Linked DNA regions of Homo sapiens: all the other regions are linked to region 4. The links are contacts of gene promoters, found by promoter capture Hi-C in blood cells and fetal thymus (Javierre and others, 2016). All regions are on one chromosome and are shown on one strand. The core of a region is centred on a gene start or on the middle of the fragment in contact, and the rest is flanking DNA. Distances in the headings are between cores, read along the strand shown.

Region 1 (3,186 bases), core at 289-2,788, 230 kb after region 4:
TACAGGTGTGAGCCACCACACCCAGCCCACATACTACTTTTATGGTTCTCTTTTTGTTGGTGACTGGCATTTTACACAAACCTATTTCCTGGGTCGAAGTGTTAATATTAGAGAGCCGGAGAGTGGTCAGTGTGACACCCTGTGGTTTCAACCCTGGCTGCCTATTAGGATCACCTAGGGAACGAACCATCAAGAAAACAAAACTAATGCCAGGGCCCAATCTGAGATGAATCAGAATCTCCAGGGGTTGCAACCTGGATGGCAGCATTTTAAAAAACATACCATGAGATTTCACCAGGATTGAAAATTATTATAATAGACTTGTAGCCTCCTGGCTGGGCACAGTGACTCATGCCTGTAATCCCAGCACTTTGGGAGGCTGAGGGGGGCGGATCATTTGAGGTTAGGAGTTCAAGACCAGCCTGGCCAACATGGTAAAACCCCGTCTCTACTAAAAATATAAAAATTAGCCGGGTATGATGGTGCATACCTGTAATCCCAGCTATTCGGGAGGCTGAGGCAGGAGAATCGCTTGAACCTGGGAGCTGGAGGTTGCAGTGAGCCGAGATCGCGCCACTGCACTCCAGCCTGGGTGACAAAGTGAGACCCTGTCTCAAAAAAAAAAAGGCTTGTAGCCTCCTTAAGGACAGAAACCTATGCTTTTTCATTTGTGTATCTCTTGGATTTACCAAAGTGTCTGGCACATCCAAAGCTCTCATTAAATGTCTACTTAATGAACATAAATGTTCCTTTATCTTTTTTGTCACTTATTTAATGTTTGTCAAACTTTTTTACTGAAGTGTCGTTAACAGCAGAGGAGAGTGAATGAACTATAGGGGTTCTGCTACTATAAGCAAACATGGAATTTCTTTGAAGCTTCCCTAAATTAAAATGTAAGGTGAACTTCGTATTCGTTGCCATTGCATCTGTTTTATGGGTAACACCCCCACTCCTTCGAGTTAAAATTGGTGCCTCCAGGCAGATGCATCAAATTTGTCCAGAAACTTGTATCCTTTGGCATTCTGTTAATTACCCTGGTTAAGAAGCACAGTATTACCTTTTCTTCAGGGATTAAAACACCAAAGTAGGAGTAGGATTTGGAAAAAAGCAATTTACATTGCTTAAAAAGAAAAGAATTATATTCTTTTCTTTTTAAGAAAGAAGAGGAGTGGTTAGAAAAATAAATTTGGCCAGGCGCGGTGGCTCACCCCTGTAAGCTCAGCACTTTGGGAGGCCGAGGCGGGTGGATCATCTGAGGTCAGGAGTTCAAGACCAGCCTGGCCAACATGATGAAACCCTGTCTCTACTAAAAAAAATACAAAAATTGGCCGGGCGCGGTGGCTCATGCCTGTAATCCCAGCACTTTGGGAGGCTGAGGGGGGCGGATCACGAGGTCAGGAGATCGAGACCATCCTGGCTAACACAGTGAAACCCCGTCTCTACTAAAAATACAAAAAATTAGCTGGGCGCCGTGGCGGGCGCCTATAGTCCCAGCTACTCGGGAGGCTGAGGCAGGAGAATGACGTGAACCCGGGAGGCGGAGCTTGCAGTGAGCCAAGATGGCGCCATTGCACTCCAACCTGGGGGACGAGAGCGAGACTTCGTCTCAAAAGAAAAAAAATTAGCCGGACATGGTGGCAGGTGCCTGTAATCCCAGCTACTCAGGAGGCTGAGGCAGGAGAATCGCTTGAACCCAGGAGGCGGAGGTTCCAGTGAGCCGAGATCGCGCCATTCATTGCACTCCAGCCTGGGGGACGAGAGCGAGACTTCGTCTCAAAAAAGGAAAAGAAATTCAAGTCCCATAGACTCAGAGTCCCATAAATTGTATTATAGCTTCGCGGGGCAGGGGGGAAATGAACAAATATTTCAGTCTTAGAATAATTTTCTTTTTCCTTTCTTTTTTTTTTAATACGGAGTCTCTCTCTGTTGCCCAGACTGCGTGGTCTCGCCTCACTGCAACCTCTGTCTCCCGGGTTCAAGTGATTCTCCTGCCTCAGCCTCCCGAGTAGCTGGGATTACAGGCACCTGCCACCACGTCCGGCTAATTTTTTGTAGTAGAGACGGGGTTTCACGATGTTGGCCAGGCTGGTCTCAAACTCCTGACCTCATGATTGGCCCGCCCGGCCTCCCAAAGCGCTGGGATTACAGGGGTGAGCCACCGTGCCCGGCCTCTTAGAATAATTTTCTAGGTAAGGACTTTCAAGCTTGCATACGTGAGCAGACTGATTTTGGAGTGATCCAATCTTCTGTTTTCCTGCTGCCTGTTAAACACATTTTCTGACTGATGCACTTTTCTGTTTCTTCTTTTTCTCTGCTTTTCCCAAATGTCCTCTCTCTAGCCACTTTTTCTGTATATCTTTCTCACACTCCAGGCCTCTCCTGATCTCTTTCAGCTTTCTCATAGCTGGTAGTTTAAAAATAATTTGCTTGTTCTGTGGTCTAATTACAACAATAGGTAGGAGAGCAAATGAGTCTAGAGGGAGGTGATTAAAGCTTTACCATGTTTGGAGTACAGAGAGAGTCTTACAAAGGAAATAGCCTACGTGTCTGTCCAGTGAGGCCACCACAAAATGCCTGTTATATAACTGGGGGCCCTCATTGGTGCCCCGGGATGAGAAGGTGGAGAGTGGGGGTTGCTAGGAAGCCCTGCATGATTGGCTGGCCCCCAAGCAAAGAAAGGTGAGTACACTGGAAGCATGCCCTGTTGACTCCTTTTACTCCTAGTGGGCTACCTTCTGGGTCCATTGAGTCCTTCTGCATACACGTCTGTCCTGACGTAGACTGGCTACACTGACATGTGAGTCTGCCACCCGCACCTCCCCCCGCTCCAGGCAGCTTGGCTCCTTTTACATAATCATTTGAATTTCACTAAAACTGGCAGCTGGTTTCTCCTTCAGTATTAGGTTGCCAGGCGCCCGAACTCCAGGCTGATCTGTTTACTCTAAAGCTCTTGATGTACTAGTCCTTGAACTACTTTTGGAAGCAGAAGGAAGCATCATTAGTAACACCCCCTCTATTCTTGTGTTTTACAAAGCTTTTCTTGCATCCTTTTCTGTTAGAGGTAAAGTTGAGTAGATACCTCTACTATAGGGACTCTGGGGCATTTGAAGATAATCTGTGCCTTTTTTAGTATGACTAGAACGTGTCGGGTAAGGGAGGGAATCCTCACCTGGCATCTTGGAATTT
Region 2 (3,145 bases), core at 133-2,632, 140 kb after region 4:
GATACACGAGACCTTCACCTAGCAACATGACTACTGCACTTGAAATGTGGCTAATCCAGGCACTTTGGGAGGCCAAGGAGGGAGGATCACTTGAGCCCAGGAGTTTGAGACCAGCCTGGGCAACATGGTGAGATCCTATCTTTATAAAAAGAAAAAAAAGAAGAAGAAAGTAACTAAATAAAAATAAAACTCTGTTAAAAAAAAAAAGAAAGAAAGAAAAGTGGCTATCTGAATTGAGATTTGCTGTAAGCATAAAATCCATCCCAGATTTGGAAGACTTTGCATGAAAAAAATACAAAACATCTTACTAATGATTTTTTACATTGATTACATGTAGAAAGTATAATATTTTGAATATGTTGGGTTAATTAAAATACATTAAAATTAATTTTACCTGTTTCTTTTTAGTTTTTTAAATATGTCTACTAGAAAATTCTAAATACATCTGTGACTTGCATTTTTATTTTATTTATTTATTTATTTCTTGAGACAGAGTCTCATTCTGTCACCCAGGCTGGAGTAGAGTGGCTCGATCTTGGCTTACTGCAGCCTCTGCCTCCCAGGCACAAACAATTCTCCTACCTCAGCCTCCCGAGTAACTGGGATTACAGACACCCACCACCATGCCTGGCTAATTTTTGTGTTTTTAGTAGAGACAGGGTTTCACCATGTTGGCCAGGCTGGTCTCCAACTCCTGACCTCAGGTGATCCACCCGCCTTGGCCTCCCAAAGTGCTGGGATTATAGGTGAGAGCCACCGCACTCCACCAACTTGCATTTTTGACAGAATTATATGTCTATTAAAGAGCGCCAATTTAGAACACTGAACAATAATACCATAAACAATGTAAATATACATTCTCCCTGTAAATTAATAAATTGACAACTTGATTTAGAAATCTGACTTTGGTGAATTTTCACGGCACAAGTCTGTCCCTCACATATTGATCGATTTTGTATTTACAAACTCAAATACATCTCCTTCTATAGCCCTGCAAAATGAAGGATCACGCCTTCACTGAAGTGAGCAAATCAAAGTTTTGGCATCTTCTGAGCTTTCTGGGCACAAGCTGTCAGCTCAGCCATTTCTCTGCCTGCAATTTCGCTCTTGGTTTATAATCTTGGGTTTAGGCTGTTTTTCAAGGGATAGAGTTGGTATCATTCATATTTGTTTTCCTATCACTTATGTTCCTTAAACAAAGGATTTTAAAAGTTTGTTAAATATTCTACATTTTATGCCTTTGATCATAGCTGTAAGACTGCTTGCCTTGAAAAGGATTTGCACATAATTCTCCATGGTTTTTTTCTTAATATGTTAATTGCAAACCGCTTGTAAAGATTGAGTACATGAAGATCTGAAAGACAGCAGTTATTTACAGTCATGTAAAGTAAAAATGGCAAGTGATATCTAATTAATAGCTAATAACCTAATAATATGGAGTGGAAACTTGATAACCATTACAGCACACTGTATTTTATTATCAAGGACAGAGCCTTAGAGACAGACCACAGAATTGATGTTTCATCATTATGCGATGGCCTACATTATATGACCTCTTATTTGTCCCTCAACTCCAATAGCAACCTCAAGGCTGATATAGAATAGCAGTGGAAAGGAAAATAAATGACACAAAAAGAAAAGTAGGTTTATCATGGGACCAATGTAGTGCTTTGGCCTCATAGCAGAGACCAGATGGTAGCAGCTCCTCTCTCAGCAGGTAGCTCTTCAATATCCTACGGGTTGTAAACAACAAATTCACATCATCTCCACCTGCTAATAAGTATTTTTTAAAATATTGCGGCAACATCGAAACAATGCTGAAAATACAATCCCTCAATATAAGAAAAAAAGTTTTCCTAAATATTTAGTCTGTTAAAAGAAAAAGTCTTTTCTGAGAAATGCTATTACCCACTAGAAAATCTTGGCTTCTTAAAATCCAAGAATATTCTCATCTCTTTTTTTTTTTTTTTTCTTTTTTTGAGACAGAGTCTCACTCTGTTGCCCAGGCCAGAGTGCAGTGGCGCGATCTTGGCTCACTGCAAGCTCCACCTCCCAGGTTCAAGCGATTCTCCTGCCTCAGCCTCCTGAGTAGCTGGGATTACAGGCACGTGCCACCATGCCCGGCTAATTTTTGTATTTTTTAGTAGAGACGAGGTTTCACCATATTGGCCAGGCTGCTCTCCAACTCCTGACCTTGTGATCCACCTGCCTCGGCGTCCCAAAGTGTTGGGATTACAGGCGTGAGCCACAGCGCTCGGCCTCTTTTTTTTAAATAAAGTAAATGGCCCTCATTTTACCCAATTTTGTGACTTTGTAAAAGCCAATGAAAATGCCTGAGAAACTACTGACATTAGTTTTACTGCAGTTAAATATTTGTTAACTTTGCCAGGCGCGGTGTCCCGTGCCTGTAGTCCCAGCTACTTGGGAGGCTGAGGCAGGAGACGGCTTGAGCCCAGGAGTTCTGGGCTGTAGTGTGCTATACCGATCGCGTGTCCGCACTAAGTTCGGCACCAATATGGTGACCTCCCAGGAACAGGGGACCACGAGGTTGCCTAAGGGGAGGGGTAAACTGGCCAAGGTCAGAAATAGAGCAGGTCAAAACTCCCGTGCGGATCAGTAGCAGGATCGTGCTTGTGAATAGCCACTGCACTCCACCCTGGGTAACAGACCCTGTCTCTCTAGATAGATAGATAGATAGATAGATAGATAGATAGATAGATAGATAGATAGAGCGTATATATATACATATGCTAATTCTATAGAAACATGTAACTGTCCTTTGACATTTTAATAAAAATTGTGTATACAAGATTTCAAATTTAATTATTCTCTTCTCCTTCCATAGGATCAAAGACATCTTTTGGTTGCACAAGAAAAAGTGAAGCAAATATTCTCTGAAAAGTGACTGATGCCAATAAAACGTATAATTTTTGTATGTTTAATAGAGATGGGGTTTCACCATGTGTTGGCGCGCGCCTGTAGTCCCAGCTACTCTGGAGGCTGAGGCAGGAGAATCGCTTGAACTCAGGAGGCGGAGGTTGCAATGAGCCGAAATCGTGCTACTGCACTCCAGCCTGGCAACAGAGCGAGACTCTGTCACACACACAAAAAAAGTATAATTTGATGACAGTTTTTCTTCAATAGT
Region 3 (2,977 bases), core at 179-2,678, 200 kb after region 4:
CATGAAGTCAGGCATAAAGGTGAGCCTTAAAAATCTATAGCAGGAAGTAAGATTAGACTTTCAAAAACTATCCTTAAAAGCCTTGGGATGAAGCAATTACATAGAGCCAAGGAATTTTGCTTCTGGGAGCCCTATCTAGGTAAGCTAGGGCACACTGAAAGGAAGATGAGTCCCAGTCTGTTCTCCCCAGATCAGAAGACCTCAGTGCCTCCCTTCAACCTAAGAGAGCTGCTCCCCAAACAGCTGGGGCAGTACTTCCGCTACAATGGCTCGCTCACAACTCCCCCTTGCTACCAGAGTGTGCTCTGGACAGTTTTTTATAGAAGGTCCCAGATTTCAATGGAACAGGTAAGTGGTGGAGAAACGAGGTGAGGTGAGACACAGTTGTAACTTCAGACCCCTTCCCACTCCCCAAAGTAACACCTCTCCCACGCTTCTGCTCCTCAGCTGGAAAAGCTTCAGGGGACATTGTTCTCCACAGAAGAGGAGCCCTCTAAGCTTCTGGTACAGAACTACCGAGCCCTTCAGCCTCTCAATCAGCGCATGGTCTTTGCTTCTTTCATCCAAGGTGATTCTGCACGGCTCAGAAGAGATGGGAAACTGAGGGGGACACAATGGCAGGAACTAGGGAGCCAATGGGAAGAAAAGGCTAAAAGGGGAGGGGGTTTCTGGGACTTGCTTGGACTGGGAACCAACCCCCACCCCAGGGTGCCCCCGGGGGATTCTCCCAGGCACAGCAGCAGAGAGTGCTGCTCCCAGCTGGGATGGGGATCTGAAGTCCCACTGACCCATTTTCTTCTCTTACAGCAGGATCCTCGTATACCACAGGTAAGCCAGCCTTATAAGATAATGCGGGGAGGGGAGGTGTCCTCACCGAGTGGGGGAAAGGCTCAAAATCTATGTTAGTCCTAGGCTGACACCTTTTACCTTTATCTCCCCCAGGTGAAATGCTGAGTCTAGGTGTAGGAATCTTGGTTGGCTGTCTCTGCCTTCTCCTGGCTGTTTATTTCATTGCTAGAAAGATTCGGTGAGGCCCTACTTTCCATTCCTCCAGTCCCTTCTTCTTTTTTTTTTTTTTTTTGGTAGGTGGGAGACGGAGTCTTGCTCTGTTACTCAGTCTGGAGTGCAGTGGTGTGCAATCTCAGCTCACTGCAACCTCTGCCTTCTGGGTTCAAGCAATTCTCCTGCCTCAGCCTCCCGAGTAGCTGGGACTACAGGCACGCACCATCACACCCAGCTAATTTTTGTACTTTTAGTAGAGACAAGGTTTCACCATATTGGCCAGGCTGGTCTCAAACTCCTGACCTCAGGCAATTCGCCTGCCTCAGCCTCCCAAAGTACTGGGATTATAGGCATGAGCCACCCGCTTTTTGAGACAGGTTCTCACTGTTGTCGAGGCTGGAGTGCATGGCTTTATCACAGCTCACTGCAACCTCCACCTCCCGGGCTCAAGTGGTCCTCCCACCTCAGCCTCCTGAGTAGGTGGGACTACAGGCATGTGCCACCATGCCCAGATAATTTTTGTATTTTTAGCAGAGACGGGTTTTCACTACATTGCCCAGGCTGGTCTCCAACTCCTGACCTCAAGTGATCCGCCCGCCTCAGCCTCCCAAAGTGCTGGGATTATAGGTGTGAAACACCTTGCCCAGCCCTCTTTTCTGTTAAAAAGCATTCTCCTATTTCACCTCTAATCTGCTTCACTTAGATAGCAGTCATTCTCATGAGCCATTCCCCTTTCCAGGAAGAAGAGGCTGGAAAACCGAAAGAGTGTGGTCTTCACCTCAGCACAAGCCACGACTGAGGCATAAATTCCTTCTCAGATACCATGGATGTGGATGACTTCCCTTCATGCCTATCAGGAAGCCTCTAAAATGGGGTGTAGGATCTGGCCAGAAACACTGTAGGAGTAGTAAGCAGATGTCCTCCTTCCCCTGGACATCTCCTAGAGAGGAATGGACCCAGGCTGTCATTCCAGGAAGAACTGCAGAGCCTTCAGCCTCTCCAAACATGTAGGAGGAAATGAGGAAATCGCTGTGTTGTTAATGCAGAGAACAAACTCTGTTTAGTTGCAGGGGAAGTTTGGGATATACCCCAAAGTCCTCTACCCCCTCACTTTTATGGCCCTTTCCCTAGATATACTGCGGGATCTCTCCTTAGGATAAAGAGTTGCTGTTGAAGTTGTATATTTTTGATCAATATATTTGGAAATTAAAGTTTCTGACTTTAATTCTGGCCTATCCTTTGAGGCTCTTGAGGGTGGGCAAGTTCCTGAATCCCTCAGGTGGTAAAGATGGGCAAAGGATGGGGAAAAGAAGCATGGGTGATTAACTCCTTTTATCCCACCCCTGGAAGGAAAGATAAGCTTCTGGGAAGACACTTAACCCAAAGTTTCAGACATGTTAAACCACTAGCCCAGATTTCTGCCCTTGCACCAAGGCTATGCTTGGAAATCAGTGGTTGCCAGGTTAGGAAAGTGGCTGGATGAGAGATCTGAGGACAGAAATCTCAATTAACATGCTATCCCCTCCCTTAAAAGCCAAGTTCCCCCACAATTACAAATTCTTTTTTATTAGTCAAAATCACAATCACCTTGATTAAAAGGATGGGACACTCCACCCTCAGCAGAAAATGATACAGTTTATAGAAAACCTCCCCGCCCCTCCCACACCCCAATTAAAAACTACAAAAAAATCTCCCCTCCTTCCCTACGATGTCATGGTAGTCTGACTCCTCCAGTGGCACTGCAGCTCTGGAGTGGCCAGCTCACCACAGCACCCTCCACTTCACCTTGGGGAGAGGAGGGATGCTGGTGGTTAAGGAGGTTAAAACCATTAGTTCCAGTAATGCCAGTTCCCAAACATGCACTTCCTTCCTTTCCCCCAAGGTCTGGGACCAAGGAGAAAGGGACCGAAATGAGCCCAGCCATGAGGAGCAACTCGAGGAGAGAAAATATAGCCCAAGGAGGTTAGAAGAGTTC
Region 4 (2,914 bases), core at 152-2,651:
CTAAAAATTAGTAAAATGCCTAAAGGGAAGCTTTATTTACTTGGTAGAAAAGCTGAAAGAAAAAAAACATATTCTTCACAATTTCAGAGGTGACAAAAATCTCTTATATTTCAGTAGTTTCTGATCTCCCTTAAGGGATTTGAGAATTATATATAATATTGCATAATCTTAAGCTGATTAATGTTAAAGTGCTATTGGTCTATTTTAACTGTGTACTTCTTAAAATATAATGAAAGAATTTATTTGGTAATCCTGAATCTATTGACCTCACAAACACTGGTCATTATTTTGGTGGAAATATTCATAAGCATTTTTAGTTACTGATTTCTAACAATTGTTTCTTATTATCTTCCTGATTTTACAATTCCCCAAAGTAAAGGTGCGAAAAACAAACATCTACCCTCCTTTTCGACAAATGCCATGATAGAGGGGAGACCTGTGTGGTGTAAAGACAAATGCAGACATTTGGAAGTTGATGGTTTTAAGATTCAGTAAAAACTTGAGAGTTTTGGCTTCAAATCCCCACGCTAGTTTTAGTTCTACCGGATACGTGTCCCCTACCCATTTCAAAGGACCCAGTCACCTCGGCTCTTGCCTGAGTTTCAGAGTCCCGCCGGAGTTAGAGCTGGCAGAGTCCAATTGCTCAGAGCGCCGAGGCGGGGGCGGGGCAGGGGGACGCTTGCAGGTCCGGTGGTCCCGCGGGCTGCGAGCCCCCACGGCCGACCCTAGCTGCAGACCCTCCTGGAGAACCTCAGGCCTTTCCCCCAGAAACATCCCTAAAAGGCGTTCCCTTTGTTCATTCATTCAACAAATATTTGTTCAATCTCATATGCCCCTCTGTCTTGGGAAAACCAATTAGGGCCTCTGCAGCCTCAACACAGGGGCACTGTTCCCGCCTATTAATGACGCAATGAACCCGGGAAGACGAATCTCGACCACTGTTTCGCAAATACCGCGTGTGATTTATTAAATGCCGTCTCTCCGAGTCCCAAGCGGCCGGGAGCATTATGCCACCTCCCTTGCCCTCATCTCTCACTGCCATGCAAGAAAGCGTTAATGGCAAATAGGGCACGTAGCCACACTCCGTCGTTCCTGCTTCCAAGCAAACCTTGTGCCAGGTTCCTCATTTCGCGAGGCTCCACTCTCTTGGGCTTCAGGCTGCCGCTGGGCCTCCAGCACCAAAGGGCAATAGGGGTCTGAGAGTCCGGGCCTCAGGCATCTTCAGGCCGCAGGTGGGTGGAGAATAACGCCCGCGCGTGGCAGCGGCCCAGGCCGTCTCAGCCGGATTTTTCCATCCCCGGGGTAGGCTTGGTCCCCTGTACACTCCAGCGGAACTACAACTCCCAGCACCGTGGCTGCCCGGACTCCCGGAAGCCGAATCCCGGCTGGGAGGAAGCAGCTGAGACCCGGCCAACAGACTGGGGGTTAATTTAGCCAGAAAAGGGGGCGGGAAGGGCTGTAGGGTACTTGTCAATTCGCCGCCATGAACGTGGTTTTTGCTGTGAAGCAGTACATTTCCAAAATGATAGAGGACAGCGGGCCTGGTATGAAAGTACTTCTCATGGATAAAGAGACGGTGAGTTTGCTTTTGCTCAGCATTTGTGAAGGAACCCTCTCAACCTTACAATTGCTCGTCCCATTCCACTGTAGGACTTAGCATTTAATTAAACATACGAAAATGAGGGTCGGTTTGTGTGGAATTGAAAAGTTGTTTATATAAAGCTTGCCCGGTGGGTTTTCAGTCTACATGGCTCCAGCCACTGCCTAGAGACTACTTCTACCCGGAACAATTTATTGGAATCAGAAATCCTTTTCTAAATGTCCCCGCCAAGAAATCATTAATATGTCAGAGCACTTGGAAGGCTTTGGGATGGGCCTACTGTTTCCACTCAACATTGTGTTTTTAAAGTAAAGCTGTTGGAGCTCAAGCTGAAATGACAGATTATTTGTTGGCCACAGACCAGAAAACAAAACTCTTTAAGGTGATAGAAAAAAATATTTTTGGAAACTTATGGATTGTTCCTGTTCAAAGAGACCATGTTTTTTGTTTTTAATCTTGAAGCTTCAGCTGAAAGGATAGAGCGTATTTTTCATTCTCGTATGTTACCTACCTGTTTGGATGTTCAGTAAATGTTTTCCGTATATTACTATTTAAGTTATCCAGCTAAGTATTAATGAAAAAAGAGGGTTAGATGTGCTACTTGTTTTTATTATTCTAGACTAGCATACTTTTAGTTAATCTTTTGTTTTTACAGACTGGCATAGTGAGTATGGTATACACACAATCGGAGATTCTACAGAAGGAAGTGTACCTCTTTGAACGCATTGATTCTCAAAATCGAGAGATCATGAAACACCTGAAGGCAATTTGTTTTCTTCGACCTACAAAGGTACTGCATAAACTGAGCTTCCATCTGCCCAGGCAGATGCAGAACACTCTGATCTGAAAGCATTAAGAAGGCAAAATAAATTTGTATTATCATAATTTGTGGCATCATAATTATCCTGGTTCATCAGTGTTATAACCTTCATTTTTCTTGTTTTGTTTCCATATTTCAGTTGACCCCTTACAGCCAGTTCTTCCTTCAAGATGTTTTTTAGGTTCACAGCCATTCCCATTGCCACTAATGAACTACTCTTAACGGAGACCCACATTACTTTATTCCTGGATTAACCTCCGTATCTGTCACATTGAACACCATCAACACTTAATTTTATATACAGCTATGAGTGTCTTGAATCTTTGCCACTTTATTCACATTTATGCTCAGGAACCTGTGGTGGCTTGATGTTACTTCCATGATTAAATCTATATTTAGCCCAGCCATTAAAGCCCTACTTTGTTGGTTTGATCTGCCCATGTGTATCCAGCCTTCCTATGTCCTAGGTCTGCTTCTCCTCTATAGCCAGCTAG

The links. Contacts are between HindIII fragments. The CHiCAGO score rates a contact against its expected background, and 5 or more counts as called.
Region 1: a contact is called between a fragment that was not itself captured here and the fragment with the promoter of VPS45 in region 4, in 2 of 17 cell types (naive CD8 T cells and total B cells). The highest score is 5.3, in naive CD8 T cells.
Region 2: a contact is called between a fragment that was not itself captured here and the fragment with the promoter of VPS45 in region 4, in 17 of 17 cell types (megakaryocytes, erythroblasts, neutrophils and 14 more). The highest score is 21.8, in megakaryocytes.
Region 3: a fragment that was not itself captured here is called in contact with the fragment with the promoter of VPS45 in region 4 in 12 of 17 cell types (naive B cells, neutrophils, total B cells and 9 more); the score reaches 10.3 in naive B cells.

What each region holds. Positions count from the first base shown.
Region 1 is chr1:150,299,728-150,302,913 of GRCh38, forward strand. The region is part of intron 2 of MRPS21 (mitochondrial ribosomal protein S21); the gene reads left to right. Among named protein-coding and RNA genes, the nearest start is that of MRPS21, 7.5 kb to the left of the region's middle. The HindIII fragment of the contact is 1,328 bases long and covers 875-2,202 here.
Region 2 is chr1:150,209,248-150,212,392 of GRCh38, forward strand. It overlaps the pseudogene RN7SL480P. Among named protein-coding and RNA genes, the nearest start is that of ANP32E, 25 kb to the right of the region's middle. The HindIII fragment of the contact is 5,688 bases long and covers 1-3,145 here.
Region 3 is chr1:150,262,852-150,265,828 of GRCh38, forward strand. It overlaps CA14 (carbonic anhydrase 14), which reads left to right. Exons shown (of 11, transcript NM_012113.3): 6 at 1-19; 7 at 191-348; 8 at 448-568; 9 at 808-828; 10 at 943-1,027; 11 at 1,742-2,227. The coding sequence ends at 1,808. It overlaps APH1A (aph-1A gamma-secretase subunit), which reads right to left. Exons shown (of 7, transcript NM_001077628.3): 7 at 2,553-2,977. Among named protein-coding and RNA genes, the nearest start is that of SNORD13C, 2.6 kb to the left of the region's middle. The HindIII fragment of the contact is 1,864 bases long and covers 497-2,360 here.
Region 4 is chr1:150,066,375-150,069,288 of GRCh38, forward strand. It overlaps VPS45 (vacuolar protein sorting 45 homolog), which reads left to right and starts at 1,402. Exons shown (of 15, transcript NM_007259.5): 1 at 1,402-1,576; 2 at 2,256-2,390. The coding sequence starts at 1,484. It also overlaps a transcript of OTUD7B not described here. RefSeq lists a silencer at 579-818 and an enhancer at 1,029-1,358. The HindIII fragment of the contact is 1,692 bases long and covers 29-1,720 here.